2 separate regions of the Homo sapiens genome follow, and region 2 is linked to region 1. Evidence: promoter capture Hi-C in 16 types of primary human blood cells and fetal thymus (Javierre and others, 2016). All regions are on one chromosome and are shown on one strand. The core of a region is centred on a gene start or on the middle of the fragment in contact, and the rest is flanking DNA. Distances in the headings are between cores, read along the strand shown. Region 1 holds the start of GSPT2 (G1 to S phase transition 2). Region 2 overlaps LOC105377209 (a long non-coding RNA gene).

What was found. The method cuts DNA at HindIII sites, captures the fragments that hold promoters and counts their contacts. A CHiCAGO score of 5 or more calls a contact.
Region 2: a fragment that was not itself captured here is called in contact with the fragment with the promoter of GSPT2 in region 1 in 4 of 17 cell types (non-activated CD4 T cells, naive CD8 T cells, total B cells and 1 more); the score reaches 9.7 in non-activated CD4 T cells.

The regions. Positions count from the first base shown.
Region 1 is chrX:51,739,005-51,746,437 of GRCh38, forward strand. GSPT2 (G1 to S phase transition 2) reads left to right here and starts at 4,438. Exons shown (of 1, transcript NM_018094.5): 1 at 4,438-7,228. The coding sequence starts at 4,623. The coding sequence ends at 6,509. The HindIII fragment of the contact is 6,668 bases long and covers 3,797-7,433 here.
Region 2 is chrX:52,249,037-52,256,469 of GRCh38, forward strand. The region is part of intron 1 of LOC105377209 (a long non-coding RNA gene); the gene reads right to left. Among named protein-coding and RNA genes, the nearest start is that of SNORA11D, 62 kb to the left of the region's middle. The HindIII fragment of the contact is 1,367 bases long and covers 2,775-4,141 here.

The sequences.
Region 1 (7,433 bases), core at 3,188-5,687:
AACCAATATAAGGCACAGTGTTCTTAACTCTATGTTCACTAGCTCCTCAATATTTTTCTGTTCTCCTCCTTTCAGCCTACCATACACCACTGTTACCTAAACCTGGATGAAACTTAAGACTCTGCTTGTGCCCCAAGTTGCTCAGTGATGCTAGATGTAAGATGGGGAAAGAGAGGAATCTCAAAACCTAAACATATTATGTCCTCCAGTCTAGTGCTGTTTTGGTTTACCTAAATTCTTTAAAAAATAATTTTATTACTCCCAAATCAGCCACCTCCCCCATACCATAAGGGCCTATTATAAATCTTCCCCTATTCATCATTTTTCTTATTTTAGTCTTCCTTCACAATTTCCAGTCTCCTACTTCAGGAAAGAAACACAAATCCTCATGAAAGAACTACAGTGAATTATCCTTTCTCTCTTAAATTTATTATATTTCCATTCTTTCCAGATAATCTAAGATTTAACCTTCTTCCTCTATTTGTGATTTAACTCTGCCAAATCTCCCTATTCCTTTCTTTATATATATATATAATAGATGATACAAGCCAGTGTGGTCTTAGAATCATATTGTCTGTGTTTGAACTCCAAGTCCGCTATTTACTAGCTATGTGACGTTGAGTAATCCCTGGCCTCTCTGAATGTTATTTTCTTATCTGTAAAACAGTGATAAGATTACCTTCTTCAAAGGATGATAGGGAAAATTAAATGAGAGAATCCATATAAAATAATTGAAATATGATCTACGCTTAGGAAGCACTCAATAAAATTGACTATCAGATAGATACAATTCAACTATGAAATACAGGCAGAGAATAGAGAGAGCATTTATGCAAAGAAAAAATCTGTTTATTTTAAATCATATTGATGGTGGTGGTACTGAGACAACTATATGTGTAGGTGGGATAAATCAAATGAGTAATTATTTTATTTTCTAATTCTATCTATCTTTCCATGTTATCATTGAGAACCAGTATTCCTGGTTTGGCAAACATTTGTATAATTGGTCTGGTACATCTTGTCAAACCATATAATAAATAAACCATCAAGGACTACTAGCATAGTCTCAAAAGTGTTCAGAACTCAACCAGAAGAGGCACTGGCAAATGATCATCAATAAGTATAGTAAGCAAAATTTATCAAAATGCCTCAAATATATGTAAATCCAATAATTCACAATTATCCCTTTTAAAATCCTTATTTGTCATGTGTGTAGGATTCTAGGGAACCAACTCATTATTTTTTAAAGCTCCTAAATAACACGAAAGAATCAAGCACTTTTCCTGCATTTCCTTTGCAATCTATATCTGAAAGTAACAAAACTGTTGAAGGTAAATTTTTTGGAACAGCACTCCAGTTAATAAAAACAGAAAGAATGACAGAAGTGCAATATCACAATTTTGCAACCTCTAATGATATGTCTCTAAACAAGTATCAATAATTGTGGCTAACTGTAAAAAGAGTCACAACCCGACCTCATGTGCCTCTTGATGGAAATAATCAAAATTCCCTTGAAGTATTCTTGTTAAAAAATTGCACCTGAATCTGATCAAGCTCATAGATTTAATTATTGATAAACAGGAAATACAGAGAACAAAGGAATATTCTAAACTCTACCATAGACATACAGTCAGCAAAGCTGAGAATGTAAAAAAACAAAAAAACAAACAAAAAAACCTCTCTACCAGTCACATCATCCACTTTCCTCAATAAATAAATGACATGAAAAAGGGGAAGATAGGTTGGGTATCCAGAGATAAAAAAGACTTAAAAGAAATATCAAAAAAGCAGGCCAAATTGAACTGTAGTGTCTGAGTGTACACATTTGTGTAATAAAACTATACGGAAAATCGTATAGGTTATTACCATAAATGTCACAATAGCAGTTACATTGAGAGGTGGAGGAAGTCATTTGTGATTGAACAGGGCACAAGGAAGCCTTCTGGGCTGGCTGGCAAATTTCTCTTGACTTGGATGGTTGTTACAAGTGTGTTTCCTTTCTCATAAGTCAATAACCTATAATTTTTAATGTGACTTTCTGTGTTTGTGCTATATTTTACAATAAAAAAGATTTTTAAAGGAGGAAAAAGATTGAATTAAGCAATGGTTGGATATCACCTACACTCTTTTTTAAATTTTCCTCTTTGGTGAGGAAAATTCTCTCATTTACTGATGAACTCTTAGGCAGAAAGACTGGAGACAAGCATCCCATCACACAAACCAAAAGATTTTTGTCCAAGGCCAATCTCTCTGGACACAATCTGGTCAGTGCTTCTCTCTCTTGCGTTGAACTGCCTCCCCTGGAACCTCATGAATGATGGATTATGAGGACATTCACAGACTATTTCTGACTTCTCCTTTATCGTTCTAACAGTGAAGTATCCTCTGTTCTCTGAGATATCACTAAGTAGCAGTCATACCAATATGTTCATGACCAATGCATTCGACCCAGGTGAAGGAAAAATCCCAGATGTCTCCTGCTTCCTTGCATGAATTACCTTATGTGAACACGGCTGCCAAAACCTTGACAGGTTCTCCCAGAAATGTCCATTCTAGGTTCACACAATGTCCAAGAAGGCTCCAGCACTTGTGTGGAGGGTCTCTCTGCACATTCTACCTCTCAGTTCTTCCTGTTTATTGTGAATAGGTGTGCACATTCTCTTTATGTCACTGTAAATAATTAATCCATAACCGGAGGCAAAAAGAATGAAGGTGTGGAAACAGTACAGAGCTAGTATAATAGTGGCAGCCCCAGAGTGAAAACATCAAGGGTCCAAGTCTGTCTTTTTTCCTACCCCTAAAGTCTGGAGAACACAATTCTCAAGTTATAATCAGGTACTTGGTTTTATAATATTTTGCTTTGTTGTTGGATTTAAATATCCAACTATGAGGCCAGGCGTGGTGGCTCATGCCTGTAATCCCAGCACTTTGGGAGGCCGAGGCAGGTGGATCACCTGAGGTCAGGAGTTCAAGACCAGTCTGGCCAACATGGTGAAACCCTGTCTCTACTAAAAATATATATTAAGAAAAATTAGCTGAGCTTGGTGGCGGACGCCTGTAATCCCAGCTACTCAGGAAGCTGAGGCAGGAGAATTGCTTGAACCCAGGAGGCAGAAGTTGCAGTGAGCTGAGATCATGCCACTGCACTCCAGCCTGGGCAACAAAAGTGAAACTTTGTCTCAAAATAAAAAAATAAATCCATCTATGTGACACCATCTTGTACTAAGCAGATTGTTTGGACTGAATAGTCTTTCTAGGTATGTCACAAAACCTGAATTCATAAAAGCAAAAGGTGACAGATTTGAGTACATGAAGACTAAAAACAGATTCAGAGAATAAGTTTGTATTTTCTATGTCAGTTTGCACTAAATTAATTTACAAACAAGGTCGCTGAGGCTTTGACTCAACTGTTAACACTTTCTGAGAGTGAGATTCTTTTGATTAGGGTCTTAAGGTCTTTGTTCATCTCAGAAGTCTTAATTGGTTTAATTAGGCTGACACCTACAGCCCTGTCTCATTACCATAAACTGTAGAGGGGTTCAACATGACACTGATTGTTTCTTAGAGCAAAGCCAGTGCAGTGAGTAGGATTCCAGGCCCCCCGGAATGAAGCAGGAAAACCCGAGGCCTGTGGATGCAGGATGTACTAGGGAGGTGCTGGGGAGTAGTGCAGATAAACCCAGAATTCAGTTGGTTGGTAAAACAAGAGTGATCTGAGTCCTGTGCTTGTCTACGTGATCCACCATTGAATGGCAGGCCAGCCATTGTGCAGGCATCTGCATATGAAGTGACTGGAAGCTTCACTGGAACAAGGATCTCCTTGGAAATTCTCTCCCCTCAGACAGCCAGGGTGCTTAACATGAAAAGAAGTTGTAACCCTATCCTTAAACTATAGAAGCCATCAGCAGAAGTTACAGGCTTATGGGGGCCCACTGGAAAGGGAAAATCAAAAGGCCTGTGGATTTCAAATTAATGAGTGATCTTAAGTTGCATTTCCTAAGTTCGGCTACAGACTCATATATTTCATGAGTCCCTCCCTACCCATTCCTTGCCTCTCCCTTCAGTTGCTGGGTTTCTGAATTTCTGTATAGTTAACCCTTATCTTGCCTCCCATTTGTTCAATAGAAATGATCACTTTTACTTGAATCTTTTGGTAGAATTGTATACCATGTGTTCCTGTCTAGGTTTAATCATCAGATTGTGGTCAAATTGCTCTGCCAGACTGTGTGAACAAAAAAGTGAATGGAAATTTTCGTTTTAAAAAATAATACTTTTGGACTTAGCCCGTGGCTAAGAAGAAGTAAGGAAGCCAAGCGTACGGATAGCAGCGAGGGGTCAATCCACGCCCGGCGTTGGGTCGGGGGTGGAGGAGTCGGAAGTGGTTGGGGTTTGGGGGAGGAGATCCGCTCACACACAAGAGGAGAGTGTTGAGCCGCCATATCTGCTGCTGCCGCCGCAGTTGCGAATGCAGCATCGGCGCTTAGCTGCCTCCGCGGTGCAGCTAAGGTTCGTGTCGCTACCCCTTGGCCCTTCGCTCTTGCTGCCTTAACCCCGCCGGCGGAGCCCGCTCTTCTGGCCTGTTGAGCCCGCTCCCTCACTGCCACACAGCAAGTTCCGAGACCATGGATTCGGGCAGCAGCAGCAGCGACTCGGCGCCCGATTGCTGGGACCAGGTGGACATGGAATCCCCGGGGTCGGCCCCGAGCGGGGATGGAGTCTCCTCTGCGGTGGCCGAGGCCCAGCGCGAGCCCCTCAGCTCGGCTTTCAGCCGTAAGCTCAACGTCAACGCCAAGCCCTTCGTGCCTAACGTACACGCCGCGGAGTTCGTGCCGTCCTTCCTGCGGGGCCCGACTCAGCCGCCCACCCTCCCGGCCGGCTCCGGCAGCAACGATGAAACCTGCACCGGCGCGGGATACCCTCAAGGTAAAAGGATGGGACGGGGGGCACCTGTGGAACCTTCCCGAGAGGAACCGTTAGTGTCGCTTGAAGGTTCCAATTCAGCCGTTACCATGGAACTTTCAGAACCTGTTGTAGAAAATGGAGAGGTGGAAATGGCCCTAGAAGAATCATGGGAGCACAGTAAAGAAGTAAGTGAAGCCGAGCCTGGGGGTGGTTCCTCGGGAGATTCAGGGCCCCCAGAAGAAAGTGGCCAGGAAATGATGGAGGAAAAAGAGGAAATAAGAAAATCCAAATCTGTGATCGTACCCTCAGGTGCACCTAAGAAAGAACACGTAAATGTAGTATTCATTGGCCATGTAGACGCTGGCAAGTCAACCATCGGAGGACAGATAATGTTTTTGACTGGAATGGTTGACAAAAGAACACTGGAGAAATATGAAAGAGAAGCTAAGGAAAAAAACAGAGAAACCTGGTATTTGTCCTGGGCCTTAGATACAAATCAGGAGGAACGAGACAAGGGTAAAACAGTCGAAGTGGGTCGTGCCTATTTTGAAACAGAAAGGAAACATTTCACAATTTTAGATGCCCCTGGCCACAAGAGTTTTGTCCCAAATATGATTGGTGGTGCTTCTCAAGCTGATTTGGCTGTGCTGGTCATCTCTGCCAGGAAAGGAGAGTTTGAAACTGGATTTGAAAAAGGTGGACAGACAAGAGAACATGCGATGTTGGCAAAAACGGCAGGGGTAAAACATTTAATAGTGCTTATTAATAAGATGGATGATCCCACAGTAAATTGGAGCATCGAGAGATATGAAGAATGTAAAGAAAAACTGGTGCCCTTTTTGAAAAAAGTAGGCTTCAGTCCAAAAAAGGACATTCACTTTATGCCCTGCTCAGGACTGACCGGAGCAAATATTAAAGAGCAGTCAGATTTCTGCCCTTGGTACACTGGATTACCATTTATTCCGTATTTGGATAACTTGCCAAACTTCAACAGATCAATTGATGGACCAATAAGACTGCCAATTGTGGATAAGTACAAAGATATGGGCACTGTGGTCCTGGGAAAGCTGGAATCCGGGTCCATTTTTAAAGGCCAGCAGCTCGTGATGATGCCAAACAAGCACAATGTAGAAGTTCTTGGAATACTTTCTGATGATACTGAAACTGATTTTGTAGCCCCAGGTGAAAACCTCAAAATCAGACTGAAGGGAATTGAAGAAGAAGAGATTCTTCCAGGATTCATACTTTGTGATCCTAGTAACCTCTGCCATTCTGGACGCACGTTTGATGTTCAGATAGTGATTATTGAGCACAAATCCATCATCTGCCCAGGTTATAATGCGGTGCTGCACATTCATACTTGTATTGAGGAAGTTGAGATAACAGCGTTAATCTCCTTGGTAGACAAAAAATCAGGAGAAAAAAGTAAGACACGACCCCGCTTCGTGAAACAAGATCAAGTATGCATTGCTCGTTTAAGGACAGCAGGAACCATCTGCCTCGAGACGTTCAAAGATTTTCCTCAGATGGGTCGTTTTACTTTAAGAGATGAGGGTAAGACCATTGCAATTGGAAAAGTTCTGAAATTGGTCCCAGAGAAGGACTAAGCAATTTTCTTGATGCCTCTGCAAGATACTGTGAGGAGAATTGACAGCAAAAGTTCACCACCTACTCTTATTTACTGCCCATTGATTGACTTTTCTTCATATTTTGCAAAGAGAAATTTCACAGCAAAAATTCATGTTTTGTCAGCTTTCTCATGTTGAGATCTGTTATGTCACTGATGAATTTACCCTCAAGTTTCCTTCCTCTGTACCACTCTGCTTCCTTGGACAATATCAGTAATAGCTTTGTAAGTGATGTGGACGTAATTGCCTACAGTAATGAAAAATTAATGTACTTTAATTTTTCATTTTCTTTTAGGATATTTAGACCACCCTTGTTCCACGCAAACCAGAGTGTGTCAGTGTTTGTGTGTGTGTTAAAATGATAACTAACATGTGAATAAAATACTCCATTTGAAACTCTTCGGTTATTTGAAATGCTTTTGAATAATGTTTAAATGTCATTATGTAATGCTATTCAATTAGCTTTATTACTTTCTCAAATAGTTGAATATGTTCTATCACTTAAAAACTTAAAAACTCTTCACCACTTACTGTTTTAAGTGAGGAATTTACAAACAATGCATAAGTGTGTATTAAAGGAATAATTTTAATTTTGAGAAAAAAACGTATGTTAAGGCTCTTCCCAGTGGGCTTTGTTTTCTCTGTCCAAGTCCAGTCAATAAAGGAGCTCTTCTGCTTCCCCACTTGTGATTTGAAAATGAAAGGCTCAGGCCGTCTTTATTTGTATAGCAGTAGTTCATGTAACATTATCCATAGGTTCTTGAAGACTACAACATTAAGCAAAACAATGTACAGCAGGTGTACATCGTACAACAATGCACAATGTATGACATTGTTCAATGTTGTTATGACATTGTTCAATGTTGTTATGACATTGTTCAATGTTGTTATGACCTTGTTCAA
Region 2 (7,433 bases), core at 2,208-4,707, 510 kb after region 1:
ATACAGCACAATATATAATATTGCAGACACAATGAGTAGAATTAATAAATGAATTTTCCTACATTCATATGATGAAATACGTTGTAGCAATACAATGACTGAAAAACTACCATATCCAAGAGCATAAATAAAACATGGGAAAATTATGTTGAGCTAAAGGAGCTAAACACAAAAGACTGCATATCATATGATTCTACTTACATAAATTTAAAATCAGACAAAAAAAGGCCATTGGAGGTAAGGATAGTAGTTACTTTTGTGGGAGAGGGATCAAGATAACTGAGAACTGTGAAGGGAAACAAAGGGGACTTGTAGGGAATTATGCATTATACTAACTTTTAATTTGAGTGGTCATTACATAGGTATGTTCACTGTGCAATTTCATAGAGCAATATACTTATAATTTCTATACTTTTACATATGTCATACTGTAATGACTAAATGTATGTGAAAAATTAGAAGGCAGAGGACAGTGTGGCAGAAAGTACAAGGAGCTTATCCTCCTGAAATTTCATCTTCCAAAGCAAGGAATTTCCTGTTTTTTTGCATAAATTCTTAAAGGTCATTAAAAATAATTGTGGTTCCAAACTGGTGTTGTTTTTGAAATTCTTTTAGCTTAACCCTGAAGGAAACTTTCAGGAATGAATATCTTTTCAGTTAGAGAAATTATTAACTAAAGATTCACCTCTTTCTTGTTCTCCTTCCCTTTATTTTATCGTAGTCTAGTAAAATAAAATCTAGTACTTTAAAAACTTGAATAGCACATATAGTATAAGCTCATCATTGTAAAATTTATTTCTGTAAAATTATCTCTCTTTCTGGCTATCTACTAGTCTATCCATTTATTTCATAGTGAATAAAAAGATATTTGTAATGATTTTGACCCAGTGTCCGAACTAGCTAATTCTGGAGGTTGCAATTTGATTTAATTTAATTTATCTGCCTTCATATTTTCTTGCAGTACTTGATGTTTTTTGCTACAAGCTCTTAAAACAATTCCAGTGCTTGATTTTTAAAACAATAAAAATGTTCTAATAAATTTATGAAGTCATTGTTCTGTTTTTAAATTTATGTATAACTCACCCTGTTATATATTGTAAGTGTAACAATATATTGTCAATCAAAGCATGTAGCTTATTAACACTATGATTAAAAACCTTAAAATCTTGGGCATGTATATGCAAGATTTTGTTCCTTTTTAATTTTCTATTGAAAATTTCCTTTTGTGAATTTACCTTTGGTTTTGTCAACTGACCCACATTTTAAGTTTTCAGATTTGATATATTTGAGATTTTAATAGCAAAATCAATTTTTTACACACATCCTACTTTCTCTATGTTCAGACCAGTTTCTATCTATAGTTCCAGGTCACTGGAGGTAGGGGCAGGTTTCTCTTTTCAGTATTCCTAATCTTACAGAAAACAGCTTTTCTCCCAAGCCCTTTTGTCACTCCTCCCTTGGACAAGGGAAGACTGATGTGATGGGTCAGATTCAGGAGCACTATCAGCAGTACCACCTTCCAATGTGACACCCATGCGTGTAGGACATGGCCATGCTCTTCCCTCTCACAATACCAAAGTGATAAGCTGAGCCAGTGCCTACTATGAAGGCTGGGCTCTGCCACATTACTCCCTATTCCTTTCTTCTTACTGGAGATTTGGGACTCTGTTTTCCACACACTAGGGGTCAACTGGTTATAAGATGCAGAGTTAGAGAGTTGGAGAGACCCTGCTTCCTTCTTGAGTCTGGGCCTGTGCTTCAACCCAGCTTGGCCTGAGATCTCTGCATTGAGGGTCATGGGAATTGGCCCCGTGAATTATATTCAGGGTCCTTGTGTGCGTGTCTCCTTCAGAGAAAACCCTGGGAAGAGACAGAGCAGCAGTGTAGGGTAAAAGTGGGGCATTTTTGTGTCCTCTGGACAAATACTAGCCCCACACTGTCAGATTCTCACCAGTATATACATTTGGATGTCTCTCACTCCATTATAGATGGTATAGATGGTGACCCGAATGTCACAACTCACATTGAAGCATCACATGAAACCATTCCCTAATCATGCTACCATCTAGAGGTCAGTACTTGGTGTTTTCAGGCATGGTTGGTGGATTCCATGCATGAAGGGATAAGGTAAATATCTGTTGATGTGAAGATGGTCAAGGCCTCCTGAATTCCAGTGGTTCCCCCACCCTTGTCTCTTTCCTCAGGGGCTCATGCATCAACCTCAGATAACAGGAAGCCAGTATTCTGGTTTTTAAATTGATCTCACAAAAACAGGTTGTCTTCATTTGGGCCTCATTTAAGCCCTCAGAACTTTGAACTTGACATTTATATGATCCAAATTGCAAATACATCCCATGGCTGACTCACTCACTGGCTTCTGTTGGAATTGGCCACTTACGGTCCTCTTCAGTAATTACTTCCCCATATCTAAATAATCATCATCTTTCCTTGCATACAATGTTATTTTATGTACTTCATTCACATTTTACAATTGCCTTCACATAGAAAACATATATCACTCACTTTTAAGACATGCCTTCCAGCTATCACTAAGTCTTGTATTTCAAATTTTCTCCTTACTTAGAGGTAGCCCAGATGTCCTGCATTATCACTACCACTTACCAATATAGATAGATGATTAATTGATAGATAGATAGAGATAGGTATGTAAGTAGGTAGATAGATAGATTAGATAAATAGATAATTTTTTCCTTGTCACAAAATCTCATGCAGGTCAATGTCAACTGTGAATAGAGTCAAAATAGGATGAGATAAGCTTCTCTTTGGTGATCAGTTTCCAAATATGCTTCCACATGAACAGGTGGTGTCTTCTCTACAGTCTCTATAATCCATCCTAAGCTGCCTGTTCTATAACAGTTTGTTCACTACTGGAAAATCAGTTCTCTGTTCCCATAGGCTCTGTTCATGCCCACATTCATCTGCCATCCCAAAATAAAATCACTACTGAGATCACACTCATATCACATGGTGCCATCACTCAAATTGAACCCTAGAGAAATGGTAATGCACTAAGTATTCCCTAAAACATGCTCAGAAAATGAGAATGAAAGACCTCACGACAAACTTAAGATAGATGTGGTAAAATGGTTTCTGGATGGGATGCATTTTTCTATTTAAGTTCATCTGAGCACTACAAGAAAGACTTGGCTAAAAGACTCAGTATCGGACTGTGTTAACAATACTGACTCACGGTGAATTATAACACAACATATAACTTGAGAAACATTCACAACATATTGCAGCTTATTTTATTAACACACACCTTGGTGTTTAATGGTTATAGTTGATAATATTTACCTGTGCCAGGGGACTAATACATTCATGGCTCCTAAATGTAAGGTTACCTATTTAGTAGATTTTTTATCCAACAAATTAAAAATATGAGCATGAGTAATTTTGCTAAAGAGAAAGGATCTGATAACATTCCAGTGTCCCAGATAAAGGCATGAATACTTCATCATGAAATATTCAAAAGATTCCCAAGATAAACATTTTAACAATGACAAATGAAGCAGGTTATGATATTCCCTACCTGAAAGAGGAGGTCTCCATAATTCTTGTCTGTTCCTTACAGAGTGATATTAGGGATTTTCTAAAAACATACTCCCATCAGAATTCTTTCAAACCTCACTTACATGATAAACTTAAAACTTATTGGTATGTGACTTTTTTTAACCAGCTTTATTTTTTAGAACAGTTTCAGGTACACAACGAAACTGAACAGGAAGAACTCTGTATACACACTCACAGCCTCCCTGACTATTAATATCCGCCCCCCCCCCAGAGTAGTACATTTGTTACAACCAATGAATCTACTTTGACACATTATCACCCAAAGTCCATAATTTACATTAGGTTTTACATATGGCGTTGTACATTCTATAGGTTTGGACAAATGTATAAAGACATGTGTCCACCATTATAGTATCATACAGAATAATTTCACTGCTCTAAAAATATGTGTTCTGCCTATTTATCATCCCTTCCTTCTAACTTCTGGCAACCACTGACCTTTTTATAGTCTCCTTCGTTTTGTCTTTTCCAGACTATCAAATATTTAAACTAATACAGTATGTAGTCTTTTCAGATTGACTTCTTTCACTTAGTTATATGCATTTTAAGCTTCCTTCATCATGTCTTTTCATGGCCTGATAGCTCATTTTTGGTACTGAATAGTATTTCATTGTCTGGATGTACCACAGTTTATCTATTCACGTACTGAAACACATCTTTGTTGATTCCAACTTTTGGCAATTATGAATAAAACTGCTATAAACATCCATGTGCAGGTTTTTGCGTGGGCATAAGTTTTCATCTTATTGAGTAAATACCAAGGAGTCTGACTGCTAGATCATACAGTAAGAATATGTTTAATTTTGTAAGAAACTGCCAAACTGCCTTACAAGGCTATACCAACAACAATGAATGAGAGTTCCCATTACTCCACATCCTTGTCAGCATTTGGTGTTAATGTTCTGGATTTTGGTGGTTCTAATAAGTATATAATGACGTCTCATTGTTGTTTTAAGTTTTATTTTCCTGATGACATACGATGTTGAGCAGTTTTTCATATGCTCATTTGCCATCTATGTATCTTCTTTGGTGAGGTGTCTGCCAAAGTCTTTCGCCCATTTTTTAATAGAGTTGTCTTTTTTCTGAATGTTTAGTTTTAAGAGTTATTCATTCTTAGCAAACTATCGCAAGGACAAAAAACCAAACACCGCATGTTCTTACTCATAGGTGGGAATTGAACAATGAGAACACATGGACACAGGAAGGGGAACATCACACACCCCGGGCCTGTTGTGGGGTGGGAGCAGGGGGGAGGGATAGCATTAGGAGATATACCTAATGTTAAATGACAAGTTAATGGGTGCAGCATACCAACATGGCACATGTATACATATGTAACTAACCTGCACGTTGTGCACATGTACCCTAAAACTTAAAGTATAATTTAAAAAAAAGAAAAAAAAAGAACTACAAAAAAAGAGTTATTCATATATTTTGGATAACGTTACTTTATCAGATGTGTCTTTTGCTAATACTTTCTTCCAGTCTGTGGCTTATCTTTTCATTCTACTAAAAGTGTCTTTCACAGAGCAGAAATTTTAAATTTTAATGAAGTCCAGCTTACCCATACTTTTTAAATAGAATGTACCTTTGGCATTATATCTAAAAAGTCATCACCAAACCCAAGGTTATCTAGATTTTCTTCGATGTTATTTTCTAGTAGTTTCATAATTTTGCATTTTACATTTAGGTTGGTGATTCACTTTGAGTTAATTTTTGTGGAGGGTGTAGGTTCTGTATATAGATTCATTTTTTACATGTGGATGTCCAGTTGTTTCAATATCGTTTGCTGAAAACACTACCTTACTCCATTGTATTGCCTTTGCTCCTTTGTCAAAGCTCAATTGAATATACTTGTATTGGAACTACTGCTGGGCTCTCTATTCTATTCCATCGACCTAAGTGTCTGTTCTCTTACCAATACCACACTGTCCTGATTACTGCAGCTTTATAGTAAGTCTTAAAGTTGGGCAGTCTTCCAACATTTTTTTTCTCAGCAGAAACTTCAGAATTAATTTGTAAATTTCCATGGAAATCCAGCAAAATCGCCCTGTTGGGATTTTGATTGGAATTGCACTGAATCTATAGATTAAGGTGAAAAGAATTGGCATCTTGACAATATTGTCTTCCTACCCATGAATATGGAATCTCTCTACATTTATTTAGTTCTTTGATTTCTTTCATCTGAGACTTGTACATTTCCTCATATAAATCTTTTACATATTTTGCTAGATCTATATGTAAGCATTTCATTTTTCTGGATACTAATGTAAATTATATTGTGCTCTTATTTTCAAATTCCACTTGTTCACTGCTGATATATATGACAGTGATTGATTTTTCTTGTATCTTGCAACTTGCTATAATTGCTTAGCTGTCCCAGAAGTTTTTCTGTCAGTTCTTTTAAATTTTTTACAGAGACAGTCACGTCATCTGTGAACAAAAAGTTTTTATTTTTCTCTCCTGTTATGCAAACCTTTTATTCCTTTTCCTTGTCATATTACATTAGCTAGGACTTCCAGTATGATGTTGAAAAGCAGTGATGAGGGGGAACTATTTGCCTTAATCCTGATCTAGTGGGAAAACTTGTAGTTTCTCACCACTCAGTATAATGTTAGCTGCAGGTTTTTGTGAATGTTCTTTACCAAGTTGAGTAAATTCCTCTCTATTCCTAGTTTACTGAGAGTTTTTTTTTTATCATAAATGGGTGTTGGACATTGTTAAATGCTTTTTCTTTGTCTATTGATATGATTATGTGGTTTTTCTTTTTTAGCCTGTTGATGTGATGAATTACATTAATTGATTTTTGAACGTTGAATCAGTCTCGCATACCTGGGATGAATCTCACTTGGTCATGATGTATAATGCTTTTGATACATTGTAGGATTTAATTTGAAAAATTTCAGAATTTTTGCATCTATGTTTATGAGACATATTGGTCTATAATTTTCTGTCATGTCTTTGTCTGGCTTTGGTATTAGGTTTATGATGGCCTCATAGAATGAATTATCAAGTATTCCCTGTGCTTTTATTTTCTAAAAGATACTCTAAATAATTGGTAAAATTTCTTCAATGTTTGGCAGAATTCACTGCTGAACTCAATTTGACCTAATGCTTTAGTTTTAGAAGGTTGTTATTGATTCAATTTCTAAAATAGATATGGGCCTATTCAGATTGTCTATTTCTTCTGTAAGTTTTGGCAAATTGTATCTTTCAAGGAATTGGTCCATTTTCTCTAGATTATCAAATTTGTGGGCATGGAGTTGTTCATAGTATTTCTTTATTATTCTTCTAAGGTCCATGGCATCTATAGCAATGTCCCCTCTTTCATTTCTGATTTTAGTAATTTGTTTCCTCTCTTTTTTTTTCTTAGCCTAGCTGGAGTCTTGTCAGTTTTATTGATCTTTTCAAAGAACCAGCTTTTGGCTTCATGGATTTTCTCCACTGATTTTCTATTTTCACTTTCATTGATTTCTGCATTACTTTTTATTTTTTTAATGCTCACTTTGGATTTAATTTACTCTTCTTTTTCTAGTTTCCTACAGTGAAAGCCTATAGATTTTAGATCTTTCTTCTTTTCTAATACATGCATTCAATACTACAAATTTCCCCTGAGCACTGCTTTCACTGCATCCCACAAATTTTAATACACTGTATTTTCATTTAAAATATTTTTAAATTTCTTTGATGCTTCTTCATTGATACATGTGTTATTCGGAATTATGTTATTTATTCTCCAAGTACTTGAAGATTTTCCAGCTTTTTTGTTACTAATTTCTAATTTAATTCCATTTGGTCTAAGAGCATACTTGTATGATTTCTATTCTTTTATATTTGTT